Regions from separate parts of the Homo sapiens genome. Here all the other regions are linked to region 2. The links are contacts of gene promoters, found by promoter capture Hi-C in human tissues and cell types (Jung and others, 2019). All regions are on one chromosome and are shown on one strand. The core of a region is centred on a gene start or on the middle of the fragment in contact, and the rest is flanking DNA. Distances in the headings are between cores, read along the strand shown.

What was found. Contacts are between HindIII fragments. The study calls those that stand out against the background at their distance.
Region 1: a contact is called between the fragment with the promoter of PREB here and the fragment with the promoter of PPM1G in region 2, in 1 of the 25 tissues and cell types used here (adrenal gland).
Region 3: a fragment that was not itself captured here is called in contact with the fragment with the promoter of PPM1G in region 2 in 2 of the 25 tissues and cell types used here (lymphoblastoid cells and pancreas).

What each region holds. Positions count from the first base shown.
Region 1 is chr2:27,132,718-27,135,891 of GRCh38, forward strand. PREB (prolactin regulatory element binding) reads right to left here and starts at 1,919. Exons shown (of 9, transcript NM_013388.6): 1 at 1,570-1,919; 2 at 815-1,004; 3 at 400-620; 4 at 126-206; 5 at 1-10. The coding sequence starts at 1,704. RefSeq lists a silencer at 1,638-1,737 and enhancers at 1,676-2,332, 1,808-1,857. The HindIII fragment of the contact is 4,836 bases long and covers 1-3,071 here.
Region 2 is chr2:27,407,991-27,410,956 of GRCh38, forward strand. PPM1G (protein phosphatase, Mg2+/Mn2+ dependent 1G) reads right to left here and starts at 1,601. Exons shown (of 10, transcript NM_177983.3): 1 at 1,313-1,601. The coding sequence starts at 1,432. RefSeq lists silencers at 1,082-1,161, 1,182-1,231, 1,302-1,491, 1,582-1,771. The HindIII fragment of the contact is 26,119 bases long and covers 1-2,966 here.
Region 3 is chr2:27,107,695-27,110,992 of GRCh38, forward strand. All of the region lies in intron 1 of CGREF1 (cell growth regulator with EF-hand domain 1), which reads right to left. All of the region lies in intron 1 of LOC124907744 (a long non-coding RNA gene), which reads left to right. Among named protein-coding and RNA genes, the nearest start is that of CGREF1, 9.8 kb to the right of the region's middle. The HindIII fragment of the contact is 5,398 bases long and covers 1-3,298 here.

The DNA of each region.
Region 1 (3,174 bases), core at 669-3,168, 270 kb before region 2:
CGGTTACCAACTAGTTAGGAATAAAGATTCCAAGGATGGACAGTTAGGGGATCCACTTACTGGGCAAGCAGCATAAGCACCTCCTCTCTCCTTTCTCCATCCTCCTCCCACCCCCAGCCCCTCACCTTGCCATCAGGCCCTAAAGCCAGGTCTTCAATCTCCCCTTCGTGGGCTTTGAACTCCAGAACCTTCTCCAGGCTGGGCACCTGTAGCCAAACAACCACCATGGTTAACTCAGGTGTCCAGCAAGTACACTGTGACTGATGCCCACGCCACCCCTTCTAATGGCCCCTCAATGCAAGCTTCATTCACAAGTTTCCCAGATGCCACGTTCAACTTCTCACAATTTTGATCCTGTTGCTACTGACATTCACCCTCCCTAACCCTGCAAACCCACACCTTCCAGACACGGACGTAGCCATCTGTTCCTCCAGTGGCAAGCAGGGTATTATCGTGGTTGAAGCACACAACTTTCTGCAGTGGATCGGAGCTAAAGTCTGTCTGCACCGCCTGCAAATTCTCTACCCTGAGTTCTAGCCCCTCGTGCTGGGTTTCCGCTCCACATTTCTTCTCTGCTGGGGCTGCTCCCTTCCTTTGTCGAGGCCCCTGCTCCTTGGAACCTGTAACACAAACACTTGGCCAGGTTCCAGGCTTCTACAGTAAGGAGTACTGGCCCCTCTCTCCATGGCAGGTGCCCATACAACTTCTAGCTTGCTACCAAAACCCTACTTCCAGACCCACTTCTTTAGAGACACCAAGAGTGACCTTACTCGTTCAACCCTTTCCCCAAGGGGGTAGAGAGGGAGCTCCTCACCGGCCTTCTCTGCCTTGTTGCCCTGCTGTTGATGTGCCTGGAAGCGCAGGAGCTGACAGTGGGCATCCTGCCCTGCAGCAAGGATGTCACCAGCCAGTGCCAAGTTCATGGTGGCCCGTGTCTCTGTGTCATGGGAGTGCAGCAAGGAGGCACTCAAGCGCCCATTAATCAGCTCTAGCTGCAGAAAGTGCTGTGGGAGGGGGAACCCGGATGAGCAAGTTCAGGGGTGCCCAGAGAGCACGTTTAGGGAAGAGTCTGATGTCTTACCCCTTTGCTTTCTGCACGTTCTAGTTCACAAGGGTTTCTCGAGTCTTTTTTCTCTCATTTGGGCCTCACAAATCTACACAGTGAGCAGGACTGGGATTATTACCTCTATTTTACAGAACAGGGTGAAGCTCAGGAGAGGGAAGGAACTTAGCCTAAACCCAAATGCACCACTCTCGCCGCTGCTAGAGGGCAGGCAAGACCTCCCGGAAAAGGCCAGTATAAGACCCCTGGAGCTGCTCTGAGGCGGAGCTGAAGCGTTCCTGGCGACTCTGCAGCTGTGTGCAGTTTTCACTTTACCTTAAAAGCCTCTCCTCCGCCCGCTGAGTTCTCGACTGAAATTCGCCCCTGGGCGTCAGGCAAGCGGGTCTTCCCAACAGAAGTGGGCAGGGCCCGAAGCTGGAGTGTGGCCCGCCCCGCGACCCCCCGGCCACCCTGGAATCGCCGCCAGCCCGCAGCAAGACCCAGCCCCAGTGGCCCTGCGCTCTCACCACGCCATTCTTTATGCCTGTCTTGGCGGCGCCTCCTCCGCCCGCAGCGATGAGCAGCCCAGTGCTGGGGTCGACCTGAAGCGCGTACAACGGGAACGGAGCCCGGTACAGCTCTGGCGCCCGGCGCCGGCCCATCCCGCCCGGCGCGCGTTCACTGCCCGCACCGCGGCACCCAGGACATGCCGCGCCGGGCCTTCGACTACTGCCCCGGCGGCTGGTGAACTCGGCCCCGTCGCCGCCGGGAGCACTCCCTACCCCTCTCACACCGGGGAGTTGCCAAAACCCTGACCATCAGCAGGAAGCCGAGCCTCAGCTCGGCTCCGTCCAAGTCGGTCTCGCAGACGCGCACTGCGCATGCGCACCTGTCTCGCGGCTCCCTCCGCGCAGGCGCAGGAGCGCCGACACGCGTCAGCACTAGCCGGCCGCGGGGCCGCGTTTCCCGGGGCGGGGCTTCGGTTCTCCACCCCTGGCGCGGAGGCAGAGTCGCCCAGCACCGACTTCGCCATTTTTGTGCGGGGCGCGGGGCGCGGGCGGAGGAGGTGGAGCCAATGGAGGTTGATGAAGGTCAACCTTTAATAAAGAAATCCGACTCGCGCCTGTAATCCCAGCACTTTGTGAGTCCTAGGCGGGCGGATCAGGAGTTCGAGACCAGCCTGACCAACATGGAGAAACCCCGTCTCTACCAAAAATACAAAGGGCGTGGTGGCGTGCGCCTGTAATCCCAGCTACTCGGGAGCCTGAGGCAGGAGAATCACTTGAACCTGGGAAGTAGAGGTTGCAGTGAGCCGAGATCGCGCCATTGCCATTGCTCTTCAGCCTGGGCAACAAGCAACAAGAGTGAAACTCCGTCTCAAAAAAAAAAAAATCCTCTGCCAGGCACGGTGGTTCATGCCTGTAATCCTCCTGTAATCCCAACACTTTCGGAAAGTCCGAGAGAGGAGGATGGCTTGAGCCCAGGCTTTCGAGACAGCCTGGGCAACATGGGGATCCGTCCCTACGAAATATTTAAAAATTAGCCAAACATCGTGGCACCTGTGGGCCCAGGTGCCCAGGAGGCTCAGGCGGGAGGATCACTTGAGACTGGGAGGTCGAGGCTGCGCTGGACCACCAGTGATGTCACCACTGCACTCCAGCCCCTGGGCAACAGAGCTAGACCCTGTCTCTCACACACATAAAATCCTCAAATAAGGACTGTTCCCATCTGAGGAGTGATATGCCAACTCCTAGGAGCACAGGCCTTTGCATCTTACCTCAGAGAGGAAGTGATTTGCCCGAGGGCACACACCAGAAACCACCGGAGTCTCTTGCTTCTTAACGGAGGCAGCATGAACTTAAAAATAAACCTGACTTCAAATGCTGAATCCATTGCTTCCTCGTATGAGGACACGTCTGTCATCCTTAACGCCTATCGCCCACTTTTGGCAGGGGTGGTGTCTGCCATTCCCTTTCTCAAGGCTTCACACTCCTGGGCTGGTGGCTTGGTGGGTGGCCAGCTGCTTTGCTGGCCTCAGAGGGGGCAGTTTGGCTCCCGGGCAGGTATCTTCTGCGCCTGACACTCCATTCTCCCTCGGGTTTCTGATCTGATGAGGACCTTTGTGCACTCCT
Region 2 (2,966 bases), core at 351-2,850:
GAGCCGAGATCGCGCCATTGCATTCCAGCCTGGGCAACAAGAGCGAAATTCTGTCTCAAAAAAAAAAAAAGGGAGCCAAAGCAGATGAGATGAACTATAGGATACACTCCAATCCTGAAATTTTATACCTAATTATAAAATTGTTATTAAGGTCAGTTATGAATATAAAATTTGAATCGGAAAACAAAACATTTAAGTTCATACTGTCATTCCAGAGCTAACCACAGGGAGGAGCGAGGGATCTGAAACAATTCCCAAGGGAGACAGTATTTCGCTGTTACCTGAAGCCCACCCGGTAGGTGGAGAAACCCTCAATACCAGACAGAGTATTTCCCTGGCCCTTTTGCCTAGACTTCAGAATGCTCTTCACAAAGCCACGGTTAACCCGTCTTCCTCCCTTTCCTCCCTACCGCAGTTTTCCCTCTTCTCTTTTGTAGTTTCACATCAAGTTTTACCTAATACTACTACTTTCCCCCCAATATTTTTCTTTTCCCCTTTTGTCCAGAGTAAAATTTTCTAGAAAAGCCCTTTGTAGGTAGGTTGTGATGAAAAAAATTGATGAAATGACTTACAATCAAAGAAACTATAAACTACAATTACAGGCAAATGAGAATTACTGATTAAGTTTTAGAGAAATCCTAAGAGAGAAAGAAAACGAAGCATAATAAAAAGGAAAACCTAGGGACTGACATAATTCAAGTTTTCCGAAGTTAGTAAAAGGCCCTGAAAAGAGTGCAAATGAGTGACAACTCCTGGAGGTCGGGTCCAGCCTCTGAAATTAACATGCAAGAGCCCAAGGCCAGGCAACCAAAATGTGAAACAGACTCTGCCCGGGGTTCCTTTCACTGTCAAACTCCTAGCCAAAAGAGGCTTCCCACATCAGATATTTTAAATATTAAAATTTAAAAAGTTATTCACATCTATTCACCTCTCCCTTGAAAAACAAATGAATAAATAGCCCCTATTTGCGTCTTTACTCCCACACTAAACCTCACACCGTTGATGAGCCTGGAGGGCTAGGTTGGCACGAGAGGATGGCGCCAAAGCTCGGGGAGAGGGCGGTCAGTGGGCGGAAGGTGCCTCTTCCCACATGGCCGAGCCCTCGCCGCCACTGGCCACCGGCACACGGTCCCCAAGCATCGGGAGCTCCCTCTCGGCCCTGACCCCGCGGTCTCTGTCGCCCCGCAAACGGCCGCTGCGGCCGCAGGCTCCCAATTGGGACCCTTCCCAGGGGAGGACCCCATCCCCCGCTCTCTTTCTCCGTCAGATTCCCGCCCCGCAGCGGCCAGCCTATGGGCCCCTGCCTCCTCACCTCCATGGAGACGCGCCAGCCTTGCATGGCGGAGAAGCCGTAGGGCAGCGGCAGGCGCGGGGCGCCGACCCCGTCCCCGGAGCACTTCACCGTGTTGGGCTGGGAGAGGTAGGCACCCATGGCGGCGGCTGGCCGGCGGCCTCAGGTGCAGGAAAGCTGGGCGCGACCCGTGCCGGAGCCGAAGCCCCGGGGGTGCGCGCGGCAGGAGCAGGCCCCGCGGCGCGACCGACGCAAGGTGCCGGTGAAAGGCGCGAGGCCGGCCAGGAGGCGGTAACGGGACGGGAGCTGTGAGGGAGCGGAAGCGGAAACGGCGCCGCTCCAGACCCCGCCCGGCCTGCGCGGCGGGGCCAGGCGCTGCGGGCAGTCATTTCCTTAGCAACTCGCCCCGCCCGCAGGGACAACGGCCCGCCCAACGGCCGCTCCCGCGAGACTAGCGCGACCACGCCCACCAACGGCCGCCGTCCTACTCCGCTTCCTCGCGCAGGTGGCAGGTCGCCTCTGGCAGAACCTCTTCCTTCGTTCCCAGTCCCCAGCCTCTTGGCGTTTTGTCTGACGCCTCTTTTGTGTCGGACTCGACGCTTTCAGCCCGTCCTCCAGTGTTTTCATCCCCCTCTCCCCAACGTTGCACTCTCAGACTCCGCAAACCCCGCCCGATTTGGTTCAATTAAAGTTGACCAGTATTTGTTCCGAGCTTAGGAAGTACTTGGCCAGGCCATGCGAGGCCTATATGAGAAGAATGTGAGTCTTTTCTGAAAGCGAAGACCTCGATCTGTGATATAATTCGAGTTAATACAATGTAGAAATGTTTGGTACAGCCTATTCTGGGTGGGAAAAGCTCAAGGATGGGAGGAGGAGCTGTTTCTTGGAGGATTGAAAGGATGTAGGCTCTCAGAGAGGATGCCTCTGGATTGCATTATGCCACAGGAAAAGGGAATAATGTTATAAGGTTTGGAGGAGTGAGGGAAGAATGTGAACTGCATTTGGGGAGGATTTCTGAGGAAGCTGGCTGGACTCGGAGAATGATTGTAAGTGGTAATATTAACTAGCTAGCTTGATAAAAAGAAGCGCCAAGATGAGTGACTTGGACTTCATTGTCGTCCTGGTGTAACCTTTGGCATCGTTTGTCTAGTCTTTGTATGCAGTGTACATTGGAGGGAGAGAGTCTGGGGCACTGTTGTGTTGTTGTTTTTTGTTTGTTTTTGAGACAGAGTCTCGCTCTGTCGCCCAGGCTACAAGCTCCGCCTCCCGGGTTCACGCCATTCTCCTGCCTCAGCCTCCCGAGTAGCTGGGACTACAGGCGCCCGCCACCACGCCTGGCTAATTTTTTGTATTTTTAGTAGAGACGAGGTTTCACCGTGTTAGCCAGGATGGTCTCCATCTCCTGACCTCGTGATCCGCCCGCCTCGGCCTCCCAAAGTGTTGGGATTACAGGCGTGAGCCACCGCACCCCGCCTACTATTGTTTTTTTTTTAAGACAGAGTTTCGCTCTTGTTGCCCAGGCTGCAGTGCAGTGGCGCTATCTTGGCTCACTGCAACCTCCGCCTCCCAGGTTCAAGCGATTCTCCTGCCTCAGCCTCCCGAGTAGCTAGGATTCCACGCCTGGCTAATTTTTGTATTTTTAGTAGAGACGGGGTTTCACCATGTTGGCCAGGCT
Region 3 (3,298 bases), core at 112-2,611, 300 kb before region 2:
GAGGCTGAGGCTGGTGGATCACGAGGTCAGGTGATTGAGACCATCCTGGCCAACATGGTGAAACCCCGTCTCTACTAAAAATACAAAAAATTAGCCAGGCGTGGTGGTGGGCACCTGTAATCCCAGCTACTCGGGAGGCTGAGGCAGAAGAATCACTTGAACCTGGGAGGCAGAGGTTGCAGTGAGCTGAGATCATGCCACTGCACTCCAGCCTGGGCCACAGAGCGAGACTCTGTCTCAAAAAAAAAAAAAAAAAGAAAGAAAGAAAGAAATAAGAGCATAAAAATGACCAAGTAGATTTGAAGAGGAAACAAACATAACTTTTAGAAATAAAAGATTGATTTTAAAAATGCAATGGGTGACCAGCCTGGCCAACATGGTGAAACCCCGTCTCTACTAAAAATACACAAGTTAGCTGGGCTTGGTGGCACACGCCTGTAATCCCAGCTACTCGGGAGGCTGAGGCAGGAGAATCGCTTGAACCCAGGAGGCGGAGGTTGCAGTGAGCCAAGATCACCCCACTGCGCTCCAGCCTGAGCGACAGAGTGAGACTGTCTTAAAAAAATAAATAAAATAAAAAATAAAAATAAAAATGCAACGGGTGAGTTAAATTGATTAGACACAACTGATATGAGAGTTAATGAACTGGAAAATAGATCTGAATAAATTATCCAGAGTGCAGTTCATTGAGTCAAAGACATAGAAAATATAAAACAGAGGTTAAGTGGCAAGGTGGATGGAGAAGATAAGAGATACAACTGGAAAAAAGCAGTATTTGAAGAAATAATAGCTGACATTTTTCCAGTAGGTTGCAAAACACTGGAATATGCCAATCCAGGAAGCCCAACAATTCAATGCAGATTAAATAAACAGAAATTCTCACCTAGACCTATTTTTCTAAAATAGAACACTCAAGAAAAAAAAAATTGTAAAAGCAGTCAGAAAGAAAAGACAAATCATCTCATAGGAAAAGTAATTAGACTGATAGCTGATTTCTTGACATCAATGATGCCCAAATACAGTAATATAGTATTTTAATGTGTTCAGAGAGGGGAGAAAATTGATATTCTAGAATTCTATTCTCAGCAAAATTATCTTGCAGAATGAGGTGAAGCAAATTTATTTATTTATTTATTTAGAGACAGGGTCTCACTCTGTTGCCCAGGCTGGAACTCCTGGCATGATCATAGCAATTCTCCCACTCCTGCCTCACAAGTAGCTGGGACGACATGAATGTGCCACCATGCCCAGCTTTTTTTTTTTGGTAGAGACAGGGTCTCAACTTTGTTGCCCAGGCTGGTCTTGGGTGCAAGCAATCCTCCTACCTTGTAAAAACAATTTTAGGCAAATAACTTAGAGAATTTGCCACTAACATTCCTTCATTAAAGGAAATTCAGCTGGATATGAGTTCGTGCCTGTAATCCCAGCACTTTGGGAAGCTGAGGTGGAAGGATCTCCTGAGCCCAGGAGTTCAAGACCAGCCTGGGCAATATAGTGAGACTCCATTTCTACAAAAAATAGGAAAAAATTAGCCGGGCATGGTGGGGTGTGCCTGTAGTCCCAGCTACTCAGGAAGCTGAGGTGGTAGGATCGCTTGAGCCCAAGAGGTGAAGGAGGCAGTGAGCTCTGATCACACCACTGTAATCTAGCCTGGGCAACAGAGCAAGACCCTGTCTTAAAAAAAAAAAAAAAGGGTTTGAAATGCAAGAAAACATGTGGAGCAAAGAAATCACAAAGTATGTGGCTAAATCTAAACAGACATAGACTGTTAAACAATGCTAATTATGTTAATATATGAGGCAAAAAAGCTGGTCTGAACTACAATATTGGACAATGACATGTAAAGCAAAGATGGCTGTTTGGGAAGAGAGTGGACATATTGATGAACTTTGTTAAATATGCATGTTAAGGCTGGGCGCGGTGGCTCACGCCTGTAATCCCAGCACTCTGGGAGGCCGAGGTGGGCGGATCACCTGAGGTTGGGAGTTCAAGATCTGCCTGACCAACATGGAGAAACCCTGTCTCTACTAAAAATACAAAATTAGCTGGGCAAGGTGGTGCATGCCTGTAATCCCAGCTACTTGGGTGGCTGAGGCAGGATAATCGCTTGAACCTGGGAGGCGGAGGTTGTGGTGAGCCGAGATCACACCATTGCACTCCAGCCTGGGCAACAAGAGGAAGACTCCGTCTCAAAAAAAAAAAAAAAAAAAAAAAAAAGCATGTTAAAATTTTAAGGATAACCATTAAAAAATTAGAACTGGAATGTATAGCCTCAAACCAGTAGAAAAAAATTAATGGAATTTTAAAAACTGAACTAAAAGAAAGGCAGAAAAAGAAGAAATAAAAGCAGGAAAAGATGAAAAAGAAGAAATAAAAAGTAAAGGCTGGGTGTGTGGCTAATGCCTGTAATTCCAGCACTTTGGGAGGCCGAGGTGGGAGGATCACTTGAGCCCAGGAGTTTGAGACCAGCCTGGGCAACATAGTCTCTGTTTGAGCCCAGGAGTTTGAGACCAGCCTGGGCAACACCCTGTCTCTACAGAAAATAATTTTTAAAAAAATTAGCTGGGTGTGGTGACATACATCTGTAGATCCAGCTACTAGGGAGGCTGAGGTGGGAAGAACATTTGAACGTGGGACATTGAGGCAGTAGTAAGCTGCAATTATACCACTACACTCCAGCCTCGGTGACAGTCAGACTATCTCCAAAAAAATACACACACACACACACACAAACCCAAAAATAACAAAAACAGCACTAATAAAAGAGACTACACTTAAAGAAATTAAAATAAATGAAATAATAGCAGAAATTAAAAACACAATAAAGAGAAGCAACAGAGCCAAACAAGGGTGGTTTCTTTAAAAAGACTAGTAAAATAAAAAATATATATATACAAAGAAACAAAAGCCTAGTAAAACAGACAAACCTTTGGCAATTTCAATTAGGAACAAAGAGAGCCAGGTGTTGTGGTTCACACCTGTAATCCCAGTGTGTCCGGAATTGGTGGGTTCTTGGTCTCACTGACTTCAAGAATGAAGCCGCGGACCCTCGCGGTTGAGTGTTACAGTTCCTAAAGGCGGCGTGTCTGGAGTTTGTTCCTTCTGATGTTCGGATGCGTTCGAAGTTTCTTCCTTCTGGTGGGTTTGTGGTCTCGCTGGCTCAGGAATGCAGCTGCGGACCTTCGCAGTGAGTGTTACAGCTCTTAAGGTAGTGCGTCTGGAGTTGTTCGTTTCTCCCAGTGGGTTCGTGATCTCGCTGGCTTCAGGAGTAAAGCTGTAGACCTTCGTGGTGAGTGTT